Linked DNA regions of Homo sapiens: regions 1 and 2 are each linked to region 3. The links are contacts of gene promoters, found by promoter capture Hi-C in blood cells and fetal thymus (Javierre and others, 2016). All regions are on one chromosome and are shown on one strand. Each heading gives the region's core, a stretch centred on a gene start or on the middle of the fragment in contact. The rest is flanking DNA. Distances are from core to core; before and after follow the strand shown. Region 1 overlaps LOC124903211 (WAS/WASL-interacting protein family member 1-like). Region 2 has its middle 26 kb from the start of SLC10A2. Region 3 holds the start of ARGLU1 (arginine and glutamate rich 1).

Evidence for each region. The method cuts DNA at HindIII sites, captures the fragments that hold promoters and counts their contacts. A CHiCAGO score of 5 or more calls a contact.
Region 1: a fragment that was not itself captured here is called in contact with the fragment with the promoter of ARGLU1 in region 3 in 2 of 17 cell types (total B cells and non-activated CD4 T cells); the score reaches 8.9 in total B cells.
Region 2: a contact is called between a fragment that was not itself captured here and the fragment with the promoter of ARGLU1 in region 3, in 2 of 17 cell types (naive B cells and total B cells). The highest score is 6.1, in naive B cells.

What each region holds. Positions count from the first base shown.
Region 1 is chr13:109,788,833-109,792,081 of GRCh38, forward strand. LOC124903211 (WAS/WASL-interacting protein family member 1-like) reads left to right here. Exons shown (of 2, transcript XM_047430835.1): 2 at 1-2,164. Among named protein-coding and RNA genes, the nearest start is that of IRS2, 3.9 kb to the left of the region's middle. The HindIII fragment of the contact is 1,232 bases long and covers 764-1,995 here.
Region 2 is chr13:103,038,636-103,042,131 of GRCh38, forward strand. No RefSeq gene overlaps it. Among named protein-coding and RNA genes, the nearest start is that of SLC10A2, 26 kb to the right of the region's middle. The HindIII fragment of the contact is 4,279 bases long and covers 11-3,496 here.
Region 3 is chr13:106,566,293-106,569,602 of GRCh38, forward strand. It overlaps ARGLU1 (arginine and glutamate rich 1), which reads right to left and starts at 1,845. Exons shown (of 4, transcript NM_018011.4): 1 at 1,281-1,845. The coding sequence starts at 1,627. RefSeq lists a silencer at 1,007-1,306 and enhancers at 1,201-2,111, 1,787-1,906, 1,917-1,986. The HindIII fragment of the contact is 1,462 bases long and covers 1,098-2,559 here.

The DNA of each region.
Region 1 (3,249 bases), core at 130-2,629, 3.2 Mb after region 3:
GCCATCAGTAGACAATGCTAAAGGAACCACCACTTTTAAACATCATGTGATGGTTTCTTCTGAGAAAGTATATTTTGCAATCTTTTTCTTTTTCATGTTGACTTTTATTATGCAGTTGCATTTTCATATCCGTATTGAACATTTACTTGCTGTGCCTGTCACACGCTAGCAGGTGTCATCTTTTCCTGTTTGCTTGTTTCTTGGGGCCATCCTAGTGTTAAAGGCCAGTGTTTTTAAGGTGTCAGCAGCTCTGGATTGGCAGTTAGCACTTTCCCCATGTACTGCCTCAGTTACCAGACTGGGGACAAAAGAGAGAAGGTTAAAGAATTATCACCTATGTCCGTGGTATTCTGTCATAGAGAGTATAAATTTCCTACAGCAAACTGGAAATTAATTGCAATTCTGCAGTTAGAACCTCCAAATACAAATGTGGATGATACAATTTCAATTCTCATTGAGAGTCAGCCCATGAAACAAACCAACAGTAAGAAACTCTGTAATTAGAAGTATCCCAGTCCTCTTCCTCAACCGAGGAACTTGTTTTCTTTCCCCCTTTCTATTGCCAGATAAGCTATTTATTTATTTAAAGCTTGTTCTACACCTTGTGATTTTCCAACTGTTCTTCCATACTTTTTCAACAAAAGTCAGCTAATAACATCTGCCAACATGCTCTGCACGCAGGACTGGCTGGGGCTGGCATGGCCTCTTGCCAGCAAACAGCCTGGTTGAAATTTTTTCTCATGGTCCAAGATCTTTCCTTGGAAGCTTTCTTTCCTTTCACAGCTAATAAAATGGCCATATCTTTCAGCAGGGAGTTTTTTCTGTTTGTTTGTTTTTTCTATTTTTAACAGAATCATATACAATAATGATTATTTTATTAGAAGTCTTCTGAAATAATTACTTTTCAAGAAAGAATCAATTATATAAAAGTGTAGAGATTTAAAAATATGTTACAGGTTCACAATACAAATACTAGTAGCACTACCAATAATGAACATCACTAATTATTTTCTTTGTTTCATATAGGAAAGGCAAGTATGGGAGGAGAAAGGTGAATAGCATTTTATTGCTTGTGAAATTTTCTTTCTTTTTTTAGTTCTTTGCCCTGTAGGTGTTTGACAGTATTTTGTATTTAGGTGAGCTCAATCTAAAAACTAAGCAGATTAAGTGGAATGCTATATAACTAGTTAGAATAGCTTTAATTTAAAAGGTATTTTAAGAGGGAAAGATTTTTAACTTCACAGGTTTCTGTCAAAGGATATATTTAATCTTTAAAATGAGTGGCACCATTTCATTATATTTCATTTTATTAGATAATGTTGTTCAGTAGCTCATTTGAGAAATTCCATTCCTCTGATGAACGAACTGTGGACAGACTTTTCCTCATCTAGGGTTTATAAGGAAACTTCTTGCACTTTACCAGCAAATTTATTTGCTAATGTTTCAACTGAAATTTCACAAGAGTTTTGTAACATGCTAACTCTGTGTATGGGCAACAGAATGACTTACATGAGAGAATATAACTGCTGTTTGGATCATTTGCTATGTATGGCATTGCAAACATTTAAAGTATCAGGATTTGTTAATGGAATTGATCAGCCCCTTGGAAATTATAAAGGCTTTCTACTTGTGTGTTTATTATTCTTGTTAAAAATATGGATCAGTCTCTTTCCTAAATGTTCATTTTATGAGGGAGGATTTTCTAAAATAAATGATTATTTAATGTGCATATATGATAGAACAAACTACTATAACTTTTTTAAAGTCTTATCAATTGAATTAATACTGTTTAGAAAAATATGTTGTAGTTACAAATGCAGCTAATCCAGTATTCTCAACATTTTTTCATTATAAATATAATTATGTTGAAGAAATACATAAATGCCCAATTAAAAAGTGACTGCGGTTAGGAGTTGAAAATATTTATTAATATGCCTCTGGATTTTGTTCTGTTTGAATTTTGAGAATGTGTTTCTAGATTTAAGAAGCAACACAAGCTTTTTTTCCCAGAAGGCTTCCTATTATTGAAATGGAAATTATACATTAATGACTGTATAACACTAGTAGATATTTTTAAAATGCAAGAGCATCTTCTTAGATCATTACTTTTCCTTGGAATGCTTGGCCCCTGTAATATAATACACCGGTATTTTGCATGATGAAATTGATGTCCTGTGTGTTGCTTCATGTTGCTATCCTAGCTGCCGATTAAAACGTTTTTTTTTTTTCATGCCAGAGCAGAACAAAATTGTCTGCTTCTCAATCTGCACATCATAAGCAGATGACATTAAAAATGTCTGTAAGATGACACAGCTATATTTTCTGGGAGAGGGCGGGAGGATGCTCAGCGAGGGTGGCCCGGAGTGTCCTTGTACAGAGTACAGATGTTATGAAGTGGGGAAGACCAGCCTGTGTTCATTGATTCACCTATTGATTCCAGGAGCAAGCTCACCCTGTTTCATACACTGCTCAGGAGGTAAACAGGAGGAAGGGAGCCAGCCTGGCTTTTTTGCCACATGCTCTGCTGTTTGGTAGAACTGTATTATAGTCAGAAACCTTCCGCTTTTCTGCAGTTGTTTGCATGCTGTTTCCAAGGCTAGCCCTCTGAGTCTGTTTTCTAGAGTTGTTTTGAAATTCAACCTAAAGATAACAGAGGAAATGTGACCCTCTCTTGTGAATGCTGCCACCAACTGGCAATGTTTCTTCCCAAGGCAGATTCAGGGTTCTGGCATGAGTTGTCACAAATACAGTGGTGGTTGCTTTGAGAGAAAGGTGCTTACAACCTGACATAAATTTGCTTTGCATGAAACTTTAAGGAAATTAATAGAAGTAAGATTAAACAAAGAAATTTTGATAGTGAGTGACTAAGAGCAATATCAGATGACAAATGAGGGAAGAGAACATTAATAAGTGCAATACTTTATTTTTTATGGTTGAATTAAGTATCAAGCAAATATGTTCATATTTTCTAATGCAATTTATATCCCAATTTGCATAGTTACTTATACAGTTTAATAGAAATGTATATCACTGCCCACTTAAGAGTTTAGAATACTAGCCAACAAAATAAAAACAAGAATCTAAATTCAGTATTATTTTAGAATGTTTACCTAATCAAAAATAAGTTATAATCAAGATTTGCTTATCTGGCAAGCCAAGTGTTTTTTAATTGTATTTCTCCCCTACATTGACCTTTAAGTCTCACATTCTTTTTAGGATAAGCCAAAGTCATCTTGAAAGATTGAAAAG
Region 2 (3,496 bases), core at 900-3,399, 3.5 Mb before region 3:
TGTATTCAAAAGCTTTAAAAACCATCACTACACATTAGAATTACATAATTTTTATTTTGTTTTCTGCCCTCTATCCCCACCTAATTGCTATATGGCAGGACTTTATTTTTATTACTGCAAATAAATAGTGTAATTATCCTTTAAAGAAATTTGTAATGGTCTGGTGGAGAATTAATAAAAATCATTATAATTGCACTGTGTACAAATGAAATATTTTTAACACATAGCTTGGCAGTAACTATTTGGAAATTTAACAAGTAATTTTTATTCTCTATCTCTGCAACTTCTATGTTTATTACTTTTAAATTTAAGTCTATGGGGAAGATTCTTTTGGCTTGGAAATGAGCAACGTTTTAAATATTCCGATTCAGAGCCAATATGAATATAAGTAGGCAATAAGTTTCCTTTGTGATAATGAGAGATATGGCAAATCAAATGTTATAGTCATTGTCTTTATGGAACTTTCCACCTTATTGTGCCCCAAGCCAAATGCTGTATGGAGAGACTGCCTTGATATTCCTGTTAGCCTTTTAAGTTTTCTGTTGTTCACCATCACTGATTCCTCAGGCATTTTTGTGAGTACCTTATACCTAAGGCAATTCCAGTGACAGGGATCCTCAGGTCTATAAATTAGGAATCCTTCCAGCTGCAAGTGATAACATATCTGGGTAACAACAGATTAAGTAAGTAGGTGTTTGTTTTGCTTAGGTGTCAAGTTTACAGGCTGGCAGCTATTGGCTTTGCTTCAGTGGCTCAACACTGCTAGAGCTGGTTCTGTGCTGTTCTATAGTCGCTGTTGCAGTACCAGGCAACCCTTTGTCTTTAAGGCAGCAGGAGGTGGGAGAAGGGTCAATGACAGGTGTCTCTATTACCTCGATAGCAACATCAACAAAAAATTACCAAAGGCTTTGCTAGAATCTTCCTGAAGAGATTTCTGCTTCTATGTAATTGTCTAGAAAGGTGTCACATGGCTACCTAGCTGCAAATGAAGGTTGACATGTGAGTTTTTAGTTGAGGTGGGAATCGGAGAGGGGGTTGGAAATGAGTGCTGGGTTAACCAGACAATAGTATCTGCTACACCTGAAAAGCCTGTGCCTTACTGGTGAGGGGCAGAGATTCTTAGGGCCAGTGGGAAGGAAGAAGGTACAAATGGCAGAAACTGCAAGACCAATGGAGAGGTTCATTTCTCTCCACTCCATCCATACTCACCAGACCTGTACATTGACCCCGGGGAAGCCATGTTAACCCTTGAAGCCACTTTTAATATTTCTTTCTCTTGATTTTGTTGTCTCATATATCATATGATAGTAAAGGAAAATATTGAAAAAGCAACCTCATGGTCTCATTTCCTTAAAAAACCCTTTAATGTTTCCCCTCCTTTTTATTCCCTATCATTTGCAAGGATTGCAATATAAATATAATTAATTACCAATTTGCTTTTTTCACTTAACGTGATTTCATAACCCTTTTCCTTCTCTGTCTCATTTTGTTCTTAATGAATGTCTGTATTGTCTTCACTGACTCCTTTAAAGGATTGACATTAGTGATACAGCTTAGAAGACTTAGCCTTATGTTTCTTATGCCATGAGGCATGAAAGAGTCATTATGTCCCAGTAGCAAAAGGACAGAATCATATTTGTTATTTTTCAAAGCTATTCTTTTAAAATTCTTCTGATTTGAGAACAGTAACCACAATGACTTAAGAATTGACTTATATTGTATAAATCAATCAAGCAGCTGAAAACCCTGCTGGTTTGACATGTAAGTAATCTTTGTACTTAAACATCCTAAACTACTATTTTTAATTTTAAATAATGATACTGTCTCTCTTATTACTTACATGTATATTTGTTGGCGTGTACTTATTCCCAGCAAAGGCAATGATGATTTCTTAGAATTAATTTTTCTCTACCAGCTTTATAACACCGAACAGGTTTTTAAATGTACCACTTAGCAAATTAATAGAAGGTCAAACCACTGGAATTTAGAAAAAAAAGAAACTTGATTATATAACTCCAAACAATTTTTAAAACTGATGTATACTTTATACATTCTTAGTTGATATTTAACATTTGTTATCATAAGGTTAAATAATTACAAGTTCAATTTCTGACAAAAGCTGAAAATACAATTTGGTAAAAATGAAAATTTAAAATTAAAGTGATACATCACTTTTAAATATATCCATTGAAATCTACACACCTCATAGATATTTATTACTGATTTTTAAAAAATGAGAAGTTTTGCCTTCGTTTTTGAGAATTTTACATTGTTTTTCTTTTGACTTGAACTTATGTAATCCTTTTTCCATTATAGAATTTTATTCTAATGTGATGTATTTATGAGAATTTTGACACTGTGTATTTTTGGATAAATATTATGTACTTGAGTGCTGTGGTCAACAGAACAGAATATACAGCTAAACTTCTGGAGTTCAAGTTTCACCCTTTGCCAGCTAAGTGACATTGGGAAAGTTACTTAATCATTCTGTGCCTAAGTTCCCTCAATTGTAAAAGTGGGAGAAATATTACATATCCCACAGAGTGATTGTGAGGACTAAATGAGTTCACATGTGTAAAGAACTTAGACGAAAGCCTGGAATGCAATATACACTGTCCTGTTATCGTTAGACTGAGACACAGCAACAACTATTTTGTGCCTCTTTTTTATGGGTTTAAGTGCTTATAAACCTTGTTTACATAAAAAGGAAGATGATAACGAGAGGATTTTTGGTATATATTGTCCCTCAAATTTCCAAGTTACACGCAAAAACAATACCACATAGTGGTCTATCAGCAAAACTTTTTTAAAATACAAGGATTAACAACTTGATGGGATCCTCTTCCAGTTTTCTTGAAAGTAAAGAATTGGAATTACCCATCTTTCAAAATGTTTCTTGAACTGAAGTCATTTGCCATCTCAATTTCTGGAAAGTGTGCTACCAAAGGCATTGCAAGATGTATCTAAGAGCTCTAGACTCTGTTATTCTTCCACTTACAGTCTCCACATTTAACTCTATTCTCACAAAAGGGTGGAGAAGATAAAAATATTAGATACATTTCCTGCTACATCTTGGGCAAAAAAATATTTGATCAGCTTTATTATAATAACATTTACATAGAATAAGAGTCACTAATTTCAAAAGTACAGTTCTGTGAATTTGGACAAATGTATAAAGTTGTGGATCCACCACCAAAGTTATGATATAGAACATTTCTGTCACTTCCACATGGTACATCATATCTTTTTGCAGTAATTGCCTCCCCAGATGCTTGATGCCTGATTGGCTTTCTGTCACCCTTTCACTTCTGGTTACCTTGGGTAAATACCTAGGAGGGAGACTGCTGGGTCCCATGGTTAGTGTAGGTTTATGAGAAGCTGCAACACGTTTTCGAAGGTGGTTGTACCGCTTAGCAATCTACATTCTTGTCAACACTTGTTATTGTCAGCACTTTTTTCTTTTTAGTTATTTTATTGAGCATGCAGTGGTACCTTA
Region 3 (3,310 bases), core at 595-3,094:
TTTAGTAACTTTGGTTTTAGAAACAAGCTGTGTGTGTGTGCTGGAAAATCTACCTAACACAAACCCAACTACAGAAAACTACAAACCACGCAGTCAATTCAGCACACATATACTCGCCTCGAGAAAATCATAAATTCAGTAACGTTCTTGCTTCATGAGCACTTTCTAAATATTCACTGAAGAACTGACCAAGTACGGCTGGTTCAATAGGGAGTTAGTAGGACTGTTCAAATCTACTTTTCAATGCGGTTTTTGGAAACTGAATACCCAGAGCATCAAAGTACGATGATCATAAAGCAAAACACACAACAAATCCCTAAATTTTAAAACCCAAAAATTCCTTTAGTTTGGGATTATTTATCCACATCTACTTTCATAGCCAGAAATACTTGAGAGCTGACATTTTCGGAAACACACTCTAACTCTAGTTTTCACTAAATATCCTTCATGGGAGCAACGCCAAAATAAAATCAACCCTTCAAGTGTCTTCTGAAGAAGCACAGTGTAAGGGAAACAACAAAACTGCACGTGTTTGCTACAGGAATAGAAAGCAAGTTAAAAAAGCGGTAGGCTTTGGGATGGTGATTACACAGGTGAATTCAAAGGTCAAAAAACTCATCGCACTGTACACTTAAGGTCTATGCTTTTTTTTTTTAACATCTCAAGGAAGGGGTGAGGGTGTAGGCTCAAGGGGAAAAAAGCAATCCCAACACCTTAACAACAGGAATACACTAAAGTGAAAATGCATTTTTCTGGCGGACCACCTAAAGTGTATGATTCCCGAGATTAGTTAAGTCCTGTCCCAAATTTGAGCTTCAATAGAATGCTTCTGGCCAGCTGTGATTCGCATCTCAAAGGTTAATTCCCTTCTCTCTCCTCCTCAAGCCGACCAGCAAACGCTCACCACCCTCCACATCTGCAGGCCGGCTCGCTCCCGGCCTCACAAGCCAACGCAGCTCTCCGACCTCACTCCGAACTCCACCCCTACTTCCGGGACACCACTCCTCTCTCGCGCCAAAATCGCCTTCTCTTAAACCCTTTCTGCTCAAGCCCTCGAATTTTCCATCCCGAACAACTTCTGGGTCTGTCCCACCCCAAGCTTTCCAAACGCCAAGCCTGCCCGCCCCGCCGCCGCCTCTCCGACCCGTTCCCGCGCCCGGTCCCCAGCCCCGGACCGTCCCCGCCATTCTCCCGGCCCGCACCGTCCCGCCCCGGCCCCACGCCCTCGCCCCGCGCCCTGCTCTCCGCACGCCCCGGTCCCTCCCCGCGCGGGCACTCACATTTTTCGCTGCCGCTCGAACTCCGCTTTCTTCTCCTCCTCCTCTCGCTTCTGCTTCTCGTCCAGGCTGCTGCGCTTGCTCACCGTGCGCCCGAAGATGTCGATGCGGTCGGGCGGGGACGAGGCGCGCTCCCGGTCCCGCTCGCGCCGGGACACGGCCGTGTTGGTGGAGCGCGAACGGGACCGCGACTCCCGCCGCCGGTTCCGTTTACTTTCCCGAGATTTGGAACGCTTCCGCACGCGCTCCTTGTCCCGGGATCGCGACCGGGACCGGCTGCGCTTCTTGTTGTGCTTGCTGCTCTTGGTGTGCTTGGAGCGGGACGAGCTCCGGCTCCGAGACCGGCCCATCCTTCCGGGAGACGCTCTAACCGCTCGCCTCAGGCCCCTCACGCGGCCAGTTCCCCTCGCCTCCGCCTTCGGACGCGGGCTGGCGGTTCTACCGAGGCCGGAGGAAAGAAAGGTGTCGGCCAACGGACTTTATGCCTTTTCCCGGCGTCTACAGCTGCCACGAAGGCCGCCTCCAACGAGAAACCCGTAGCGCCAGGCGCCCCTAAGATGGCAGCTGCGGCTGCACCGGCCGCCCTTCCCACAATGCCCTGCGCGAAACGTGCCGAAGCGTGGGCCCCGCCTCCTGACGATTTTTGCCGAAGGCAGGCGAGCGCTTCGGAGCGGACTCGTTTTTTTCCGCCAGTCTTGGCGGAAGCCTGAGACGCAATAGATGGAGACTCTCCTTTTCGCCTTGGCGTACTCTTTTTTTTTTTTTCCTCCCTGGTAAGATGCCAACGCCTGTTGAATGAATTAAGCACGTTTTAGTGGGATTTAAGTCCGGCCTCGCAGAAGTTGATTGATTGCATTATTTTCTAGGAGCTGGTCTTGTGGGGCAGCCCTAAAATGTATCTCCAAGTGACCCTGCACTCATCACTTGCTGCCTTGGACTTAGTTTCCTCATTCGTAGAATGGAGACACCACACTTTCTGAAGTGCTTATGAGACTTGCAGGAGGTAAGTAGGCAGCAGGTTTTGATGAATGTAACCTAATGCTTACTATAGGGCTTAATGTGCCTTCTAAATGCTTTAATGTATTAACAAGTGCTTAATTCTTACAATTCTGAATTAAGTACTACTATTATCCACGTTTCAGAGATGAGGACCCTGAGGTCCACAGAGGTTAAATAAGGGTCACACAACCAGTAGGTGACAGAGCAGGGACGTGAACCTAGATCATATTGTGCAAAGCCCTTGCACATAACCAGCAAGCCCTCCTCAACCCTAGCCACGAAAAGCTTCGTCCCTATGTGGCACAACAAACTGTGTCATTGTTAAGACCTAAAAGGAAAAGGCAATGTTAATATTTGCAGATGACAGGAACCCTTGAAAATCTAGGTGCCTCAATTTTAAAATTGAGTGCAATAATAAAGCTTAAGTAAGTAGAAGAAAAATTAGAATTATTTGAATAAGCAAAAACATATTAAAAATGAAATAATATTTCCTCCACAATGGCAACAGAAACCATAAAATACTTAGGGATAAACTTTAACAAGTTACACAATCTTTATTATAAACCTTTACTGAAAAGGCAGTAATAAGGCCCTAGTAAATGTAAAACATGCTGTATTCTTAGGTGAGTAGTCAGTATCAAAAATACTGTCAATTCTTCCCAAGTCAAATTACAAAATTAGTGCAATTCTCATGAGAGTCCCAAATTCTCTTGGGGATATGTGTTTTAGAACTAATTAATTTTAAGTTTTATATGGAAGATCACATAATTAATTATCAAGAAAACTTGGAAACAAAGAAGAGTAGTGTATTAGTCTGTGTTGACTGCTGTAACAAAATATCATAAACTAGGCAGCTTATGAACAACAAATTTATTTCTCACAGTTCTGAAAGTTGGAAATCCAGGATCCAGGTGCTAGCCAATCTGGTCGCTGGTGAGGACCCAGAGATTCACAGATGACTCACAGAAGGCACCTACTCACAGTGCCCTCACATGATAGAAGGGGAAAGCTAGCTCTCTGAGCTCTCTTTTAGT